Regions from separate parts of the Homo sapiens genome. Here region 1 is linked to region 2. Evidence: promoter capture Hi-C in 16 types of primary human blood cells and fetal thymus (Javierre and others, 2016). All regions are on one chromosome and are shown on one strand. The core of a region is centred on a gene start or on the middle of the fragment in contact, and the rest is flanking DNA. Distances in the headings are between cores, read along the strand shown.

Region 1 (3,490 bases), core at 524-3,023, 110 kb after region 2:
TCAGAAGAGCTGGAAGCTGACAAGGAAGGAAGGAAGGGTCACACTCCCCTAATCCCTCCCTCAAGGGCTCTCTCTGGCTGTGCAGCTGGCCCAGAGCTCCAGGGCCTGCCTACGGCCACACTGAACTCGACTCAGCTCAACATGTGGAGCTGCTCCCCAGCCTCCAGGGGCCTGGACTCACTGAGGTCTCGCAGCTGGGCATGGAGTTGGTCCCCCAGAGGCCCAAAGACCAGACGCAGCTCCTCAAGGGCACAATTGCAGAGGGTGGCGCCATCCATGTCACATCGTGAGAAGTCAATGGCGCTTGCGTCGTACTTGTTCTTCTCCACTTGGTAGCTGATCCAGTCCAGAACCTGCGTCTTCGACCAGAACTGGGGCTGTTCCCCCAACCAGCTGGCCTTCTCTGCAAGGGCCAGGCAGGGAAACAGGCTCAGCTCAGGCCACCCAGCAGACCTTACAGCCCCATTTTTTTTTTTTTTTTTGAGATGGAGTCTCACTCCTGTCACCTAGGCTGGGGTGCAATGGCACAATCTCGGCTCACAGCAACCTCCACCTCCCAGGTTCAAGCGATACTCCTGCGTCAGCCTCCCCAGTAGCTGGGATTATAGGTGCCCACCACCACGCTGGGATAAATTTTTTTTTGTATTTTTAGTAGAGACGGGGTTTCACCATGTTGGCTAGGCTGGTCTCGAACTCTTGACCTCAGGTGATCCGCTCAGCTCAGCCTCCCAAAGTGCTGGGATTACAGGCGTGAGCCACCACTCCCAGCCCACACAGCCCCATTCCTGGAGCACACTGGGGATTCACACCTCAGCCCTTGGAGCCATCCCAAGAGTAGGGGCAGGAGGTAGCATTCACAACACCCTTGTCCTGGTATCTGACACCTCCCTCTGCCTGTCACAGCCCCACAACCCCCAGCACCTCAGTCACTAAGTCTCAGCCTCTAGCCCTGGAATTTGCCTAGAGACCCTCCTCCCTGCCTATTCCCCCATTTGTCTAACAGGCCCTTAGATGGATCTGTCTCCCACTCCGTGCCCCATCCCACCCCGCTGAGACCCACCTGTACCCTCCAATGACATCTGGGGGTTGCTCAGGGTCAGTACCAAGTCATCGGCCCCAAAGGTGGCAGCAGGGGGAACAGAGGCCAGGGTGGAGTCCTCCGAGCTGTACATCGCACTGAAGTAGTTGCTAAAAATGTTGCTAATCTCACAGGTTGCAGCCATGAGGCTACCTGTGGGTAGGGGGAGAGAGGATGAGGTTGGTGAGGGGACGAGGGTCCTCTCCTTACACTCCCAGCTACTCTGCTTTGCCCAACCCTGGGCAAGAGTAGCCCCCAGGGGCAGGAAGATCAGCAACTCTGCGGACACCGTCTCTTCAAGAAGGGCTCCAAGATCTCAGACCAGGGCAGGACCACAGGAGCCTCCAGCTGGGCTTCCCTCCTCAGATCTCTGGGGCCCTGGAGCCAGACTAGCGGCGTCATGGCCATTCTGCCTTCCCAGAGACAATCTCTCTCTGTTCTTTGACCCTCAGGACACCTACGCTCTTGCTCGGAGATCCTAGACTGGAGTGTGCAGGTTCAGAACTGCAAATCCTCTGGACCCCTCTGCAGTTTCCCAAGAGCTGGGCTAGGGAATGACAGGCGGGGAATCCTACCGGAGTGGCGGAGTCCGGCTGTGGCAGGCAGGCCGGCAGGCGGGAGAGAAATCCAGTTCCGCCAGGTAGCGCTGAGGTATCTGGCCGCTGCGCTCCCCTACCCGGCTCTAAATAGAGCCTGGAGGGAGCTCCTCCCTGAGCTCAGGGCTTTATAGTGTGTCCCCTGCAGTAACCTGAGCTGGTGTCTCATTGGATGGAGGGGATTTCCTGGCCTTTAGACTGGGCTCCTGGCCCCAGGTGATTTGCATATTCAGTGCCACTTGGCCCGGATCTTAGCAGGCAGTGCTGGGAAATCAGGCCCGGCTGGTTTAATGATTGTCAGAGTCTGTCATCCCGCACCCTCTGGGGTTGGGCACGGGGCACTGGCCTGGGCAGGTGGCGGGAACGTTGCTGGGGTGGGCATCTGTGCTTTCGGCTGCCCTCTGGCCCAGGAAATTCCTCCCAGGGGCCAGGCCAGAGATGGGCCAGGCAGGGGGAGGGCAAGTGAGGGAACATGAACCCCTGGCTGACCTGAGTCAGAAAGCTGCTGGCCCCTAAATTCCAGAGATTCAGCAACAAAGAGGCCTAGTAGGGAGAGGAGTTACTAGGTTTAGGGGTTTTTCCCAGAACACCCAGGACTCTGGCCAGGGGCTGGAAGGTGCTCCAGGCTCAATGCTGGGCAATACTCATGGATTAATTGGTGCTGGCTGGGCCTGCCAGCCTAGTCGTGGCCCCAGGGTCCCCACTAAAGGGCTCCTTCTCCAGCGCCCACTCTGTTGGCAAGGTCTTCACTACCATCACCTGCCTGGACTCCATCCAAGCATCAGGGTTGCTGCAGTCGCTCCTGAAGAGACCCGGCTCTGCTTGAAAGTTCTTCCCTCAGCGCCTGCTGGAGCCCTCCCTGCCGGAGTTGCCAGAATCCACACGGGTAAGTTCATCCCTGCTCTCTGGACCCCATCTAATCTCTGGTTCACTCGGCCCAGTTTTCCAGTACCTTCTGCTGCCCTCTAGTGGTCAGAAGCCTGACTACCTGGGTCACGTCATTCAAAGAAGAGGGAATGCATAGTATTAATATATTTACCAAGCACTTTTCAACATATTCTCTCATTTAATCCTCACACCAAAAAAGTCCTGTAAGGAATGCATGGTTATTCCCATTTTATAGACATGAAAGTTGCAGTGTGGAGGGTTCCCTTAGAATGGCTTGCCCAGGCCACACAGAGTTGGTGAAGGGGTGGAGCTGAGATTCACATCCAGGTATGCAGGTGTGTTGTACACAAAACCCTCGCTCTTTCCCTGCACAGGATTCAATGTCTTCGGGCTTCAGAGTCTTCCCATCCAGCTCCATGGCCAGAGCCCTTGCCTTCCCTGTGGGCAGAGTCCCCCATGTCTGTGGTTGTCTCTATGGACTCAGCCCGAAACACAATGGATAGTGTCTTATAGACCCTTCTTGAGACCCTGAATGGGGTAATACAGGTGGTTGAGGCAGGAGACTTGTAGCCAGCATCTGCAACTGTGTGATCTTGGATGAGACCCTTGGAGTCTGTGCTTGTTTCCCCATCTATAAAAAATGAGGTTGTCTGAATTTAATAATCCCTAAGATCTCTTCCAGATCTAGTATTTTGTTTATTTTGTTTTGAGGTGGAGTCTCGCTCTGTCGCCCAGGTTGGAGTGCAGTGGCGTGATCTCTGCTCACTGCAACCTCTGACTCCTGGGTTCAAGCGATTCTCCTGCCTCAGCTTTCCGAGTAGCTGGGATTACAGGCGCCCGCTGCCATGCCCGGCTTTCTGTATTTTTAGTAGAGACGGGGTTTCACCATGTTAGCCAGGATGGACTCGATCTCCTGACCTCATGATCT
Region 2 (3,514 bases), core at 569-3,068:
CAGACCTTGGAATAGGACCTGTGTCCGTAATGCTGATCCTGAGCCCTTCTCCGGCCAGGCAAGTCCCCCTTGTCATGCAGCATCATTCACGAAGGAACAGCAGCTTCACAGGGAGACCACAGTCACTCCATTACACTCCATGCAGCCAAAATTTGAAAGACTGTTTGCTTATTTTGTCTTACAGAGAGAGAGAGGGTGGCCTTGCTGTGTCTTGCATAAATGCACACATCAGTATGTTTCTGCAGTGTTTTAAGTTGTCTCTCTATGCTCTACATATCCTTTGACACCCATGGACTTATCGTAGACGCTACCAGAAGTAAGGGCATAGTGGTATACTTTAGAACTGTGAAACAGGCCAGCTGGAAGGACCATCTGGTCTACCCGCCCTGGTTGGGAGATAAAGAAATTGGAGAGGTAATGCAACCTGCCCAGTGACGCCCAGTATGTCAGTGGCAGAGCTAAGACTAGAGCCCCCCATTAGTTCCAGTGCCCAGAACCAGGTATCCCTTTCAGAGAGGATCTAGGAAGTTGCTGATGGAAATGACAACGATAACAATGAGAATCCCAGCAGGGAGGGAAGAACGGAGCGGTCTTTTGCTTCTGGTGCTTGTATTCTCATGGAGTGGATGCTGACTTGATCCAGAGGGGTGTGAAGGAAATTGGGCTCTCCCTTCAGGCACTCCTTCAGGAGGCAGGAGACGGAGGAGCAGCGAAGGAAGCTGTGGGAGCAGGGCAGCGGCAGGGGGTACAGAGGAAAGAAGAGGAGTCACAACAAAGGACAGAGGTATCTTGGGTGGGACAGGGGAGAAGGGCTGAGGAAGGGAGAGGGCAGCTTAGGGTCTGGAGAAAGTGGCAAAGGCCTGCCTTGAGGTTGCTCCCGAAGCAGAAGATCAGGCTGGGGCTGGAACCCAGGGGCCCCACACACCCGCCTGTCCCCCTGGCCTGCCTACTTCTCTTGAGAGCAACCAGAAACCAATACCGTATTTGTCTCCTTCTCCAAGGTAAAGGAGGAGCAAGTCAGAGCTCCAAGACTCAGGTTTTGCACACCCACAAATTCCATTTCCAAAGACCTGATGGAGACTTTGAGTCCCTTCCCTGGATTGCAGCCTCCCAGCAGAGCTCAAACAGAACACACACTCACCTCCATGAAGGGCACGGCACGACAAGAAACGTCACCCAGTAGCCTCTGCTTGGTGATCTCGTTGAAGATGACAATAGGGAGGCAGAAAAAGAGGACCAGAAAATCCCAGAGGGCCAGGCTGGCAAGGATGGAGTTCCAGGCACTCTTCAGGTAGTAGCTGTGCCACACGATGCACATGACCGACAGGTTGCCCACAATGCCCACCGCAAACACCACCAGCGCCAGAAGCATGATGGCATAGGCACTGTAGGAGCTCTCGGTCACCGGATACAGGGGGTTCTGGATCTGTAGCCTCTGCCCTGGTGCTCCTGTCAGATTGCCCCTCAGTTCCTGCCCACTGTCTGGGGTGCCCCCATCCTTGCCGGGGTTAGGGCTGGTGGCCACCAAGGGCTTGGTTGGCTGCAGGCCAGCAGGGTGAATGGGCCGGGGGTACTCCGCCCACTCCTCAGGCACATACTGCTGCACGCCCTTGGCCTCCTCATCCTCGGTGCCCCTCTTGGATCGGCTCTGCTGCTCCTGGGTCTCGGCTCTGTGCCTGCCCAGGTGCAGGGGGGCACCCCCAGAGACCCTGCTTAGCCCCACAGCCAAAATCACAGCAAGAGAGACAGCCAGGGGCCACAGCCACCGCATGGCTGGATGAGCAGGAGACAGCCAGCCCAGGAAGAGCAGGTGAGTGCAGGGGGCCCAAGAGCTGGGCTCCAGAGAGGCAGCTGGCCGGCTGGATCCGCCTCCAGTCAGGCGTCTGGCATCACTCGCCTGCCCTCCCTCCCAGCCTCCGGCCACAGGCCGGGCAGGGCCCTCTGCTGGACACATAGCACTCTTTGCTGCCCTCACACATCTCGTCCTCCACGACGCCGCTTCTCAGGCCCTACAGCATGTCAGGCTGTGGGGCCCTAAGAGGGCATCTGCTTCAGGCCCCTGAAACTAGGGAGGAAATGTGGCCTGCCTAGGGTGACACAGGGAGGTGGGGCAGAATGGGAACTGGGGCGCAGGTCTCCTGATTCTAAGGCAGCTCCTCCATTCAAAACTCAGCAATAACCATCACTGTCACTTACTGAACACTTACTAGGTGCTAGCACTCAGCTGGTTTCTCAATTAACCCTTGATTAATCTCAGATCACAAATCTGAGGTTTGTAGAGGTCAGTCACTTGCCACATAGTTGATACAAGGCAGAGCAAGGCCCACAACCCAGATCTGACTCCAGAGATTTCTAATTTTTTTTTTTTTTTCGGTTGCCCAGGCTGGAGTGCAATGGCGCGGTCTTGGCTCACTGCAGCCTCCGCCTCCTGGGTTCAAGTGATTCTCCTGCCTCAGCCCCCTGAGTAACTGGGATTACAGTTACTGTAGTGCCCGCCACCATACCCGGCTAATTTTTGTATTTTTAGTAGAGACAGGGTTTCACCGTGTTGACCAGGCTGGTCTCAAACTCCTAACCTCAGGTGATCCGCCTGCCTCAGCCTCCCAAAGTGCTGGGAGCCACCGCACCCGGCCTAAAACACCATATTCTGAGCCAGACACAAGATGTGTGGACATTTGCAATAACACGTCTTTACTGACTACGTGTTGTGTTCCAGACACTCAGAATACAAAAATGTAAAGGATCTCTGCCACCAATGAGCTTTCAGTCCAGAGAAGGAAGTAAATGTGTAAGTTCAGCATGATAGATGCTATGAAAGGCAAAGGTCATGATGCTGAGGGAACCCAAGAAAATCTGGGGGGGATCTGGAAGGCCTCCCAAGCGAGGTGACATTTGAATGGATCCCGAGAAATGGCTGTGAGCTTGCCTGACAGACTACGGGAAGGGAGGGTGCTCTAGGCAGAAGACACAGCACACACAAAGGCTGGGTGATGTGGAAGTGGGTGATGTTCCCGCAAGAGAGCAAGTCTGTCGAGGGGACTAGAGTGCAAGGGAGGTGGGGAGAGAGCATGGGCACTTGGGACAAAGAGCTTGGAAATATCAGCAGAGGAGGAACTGGACTGTAAAGGACTTTGTATGCCAAGCCAAGGAGTTTAGATTTTATCCCATAAGCAATGGAGAATATCACAGGTTGTTAAGTAGGCAAACAATGACTCAACTAAGTTATTTTAGAGGGGTCCCTGATGGGCAGCTGGGGTCCTAGCAATCTGGAACAGGAGGATGCAGAGACCGGGGGTTCTGTTGGGAGGCAGTGGGTGATGGAGAGAAGCCCAGAGTCAAGGAAAACCAGCAGCTTTGAGCGGCTTTGGCTGTGCATGGGAGGGAGAGGTCGAGGCAGAGCCCAAGCATGGGGTGGGTAGTGAATCCACTCAGCCACATTAGGGAGGCACAGTTCTGAGGACGGACCACACGATGCCTAGGAGAATCCACTGGAGAATTAACTCGAAGACCTGCC

Evidence for each region. Contacts are between HindIII fragments. The CHiCAGO score rates a contact against its expected background, and 5 or more counts as called.
Region 1: a contact is called between the fragment with the promoter of ELF3 here and the fragment with the promoter of GPR37L1 in region 2, in 6 of 17 cell types (erythroblasts, endothelial precursors, M0 macrophages and 3 more). The highest score is 10.2, in erythroblasts.

What each region holds. Positions count from the first base shown.
Region 1 is chr1:202,008,870-202,012,359 of GRCh38, reverse strand. It overlaps ELF3 (E74 like ETS transcription factor 3), which reads right to left and starts at 1,773. Exons shown (of 9, transcript NM_004433.5): 1 at 1,654-1,773; 2 at 1,061-1,231; 3 at 182-403; 4 at 1-16. The coding sequence starts at 1,223. It overlaps ELF3-AS1 (ELF3 antisense RNA 1), which reads left to right and starts at 2,007. Exons shown (of 2, transcript NR_146472.1): 1 at 2,007-2,560. RefSeq lists enhancers at 1-873, 874-1,807. The HindIII fragment of the contact is 11,380 bases long and covers 1-3,490 here.
Region 2 is chr1:202,121,221-202,124,734 of GRCh38, reverse strand. GPR37L1 (G protein-coupled receptor 37 like 1) reads right to left here and starts at 1,818. Exons shown (of 2, transcript NM_004767.5): 1 at 1,142-1,818. The coding sequence starts at 1,771. It overlaps LOC105371683 (a long non-coding RNA gene), which reads left to right. Exons shown (of 3, transcript XR_922422.3): 2 at 677-784; 3 at 1,002-1,148. The HindIII fragment of the contact is 24,323 bases long and covers 1-3,514 here.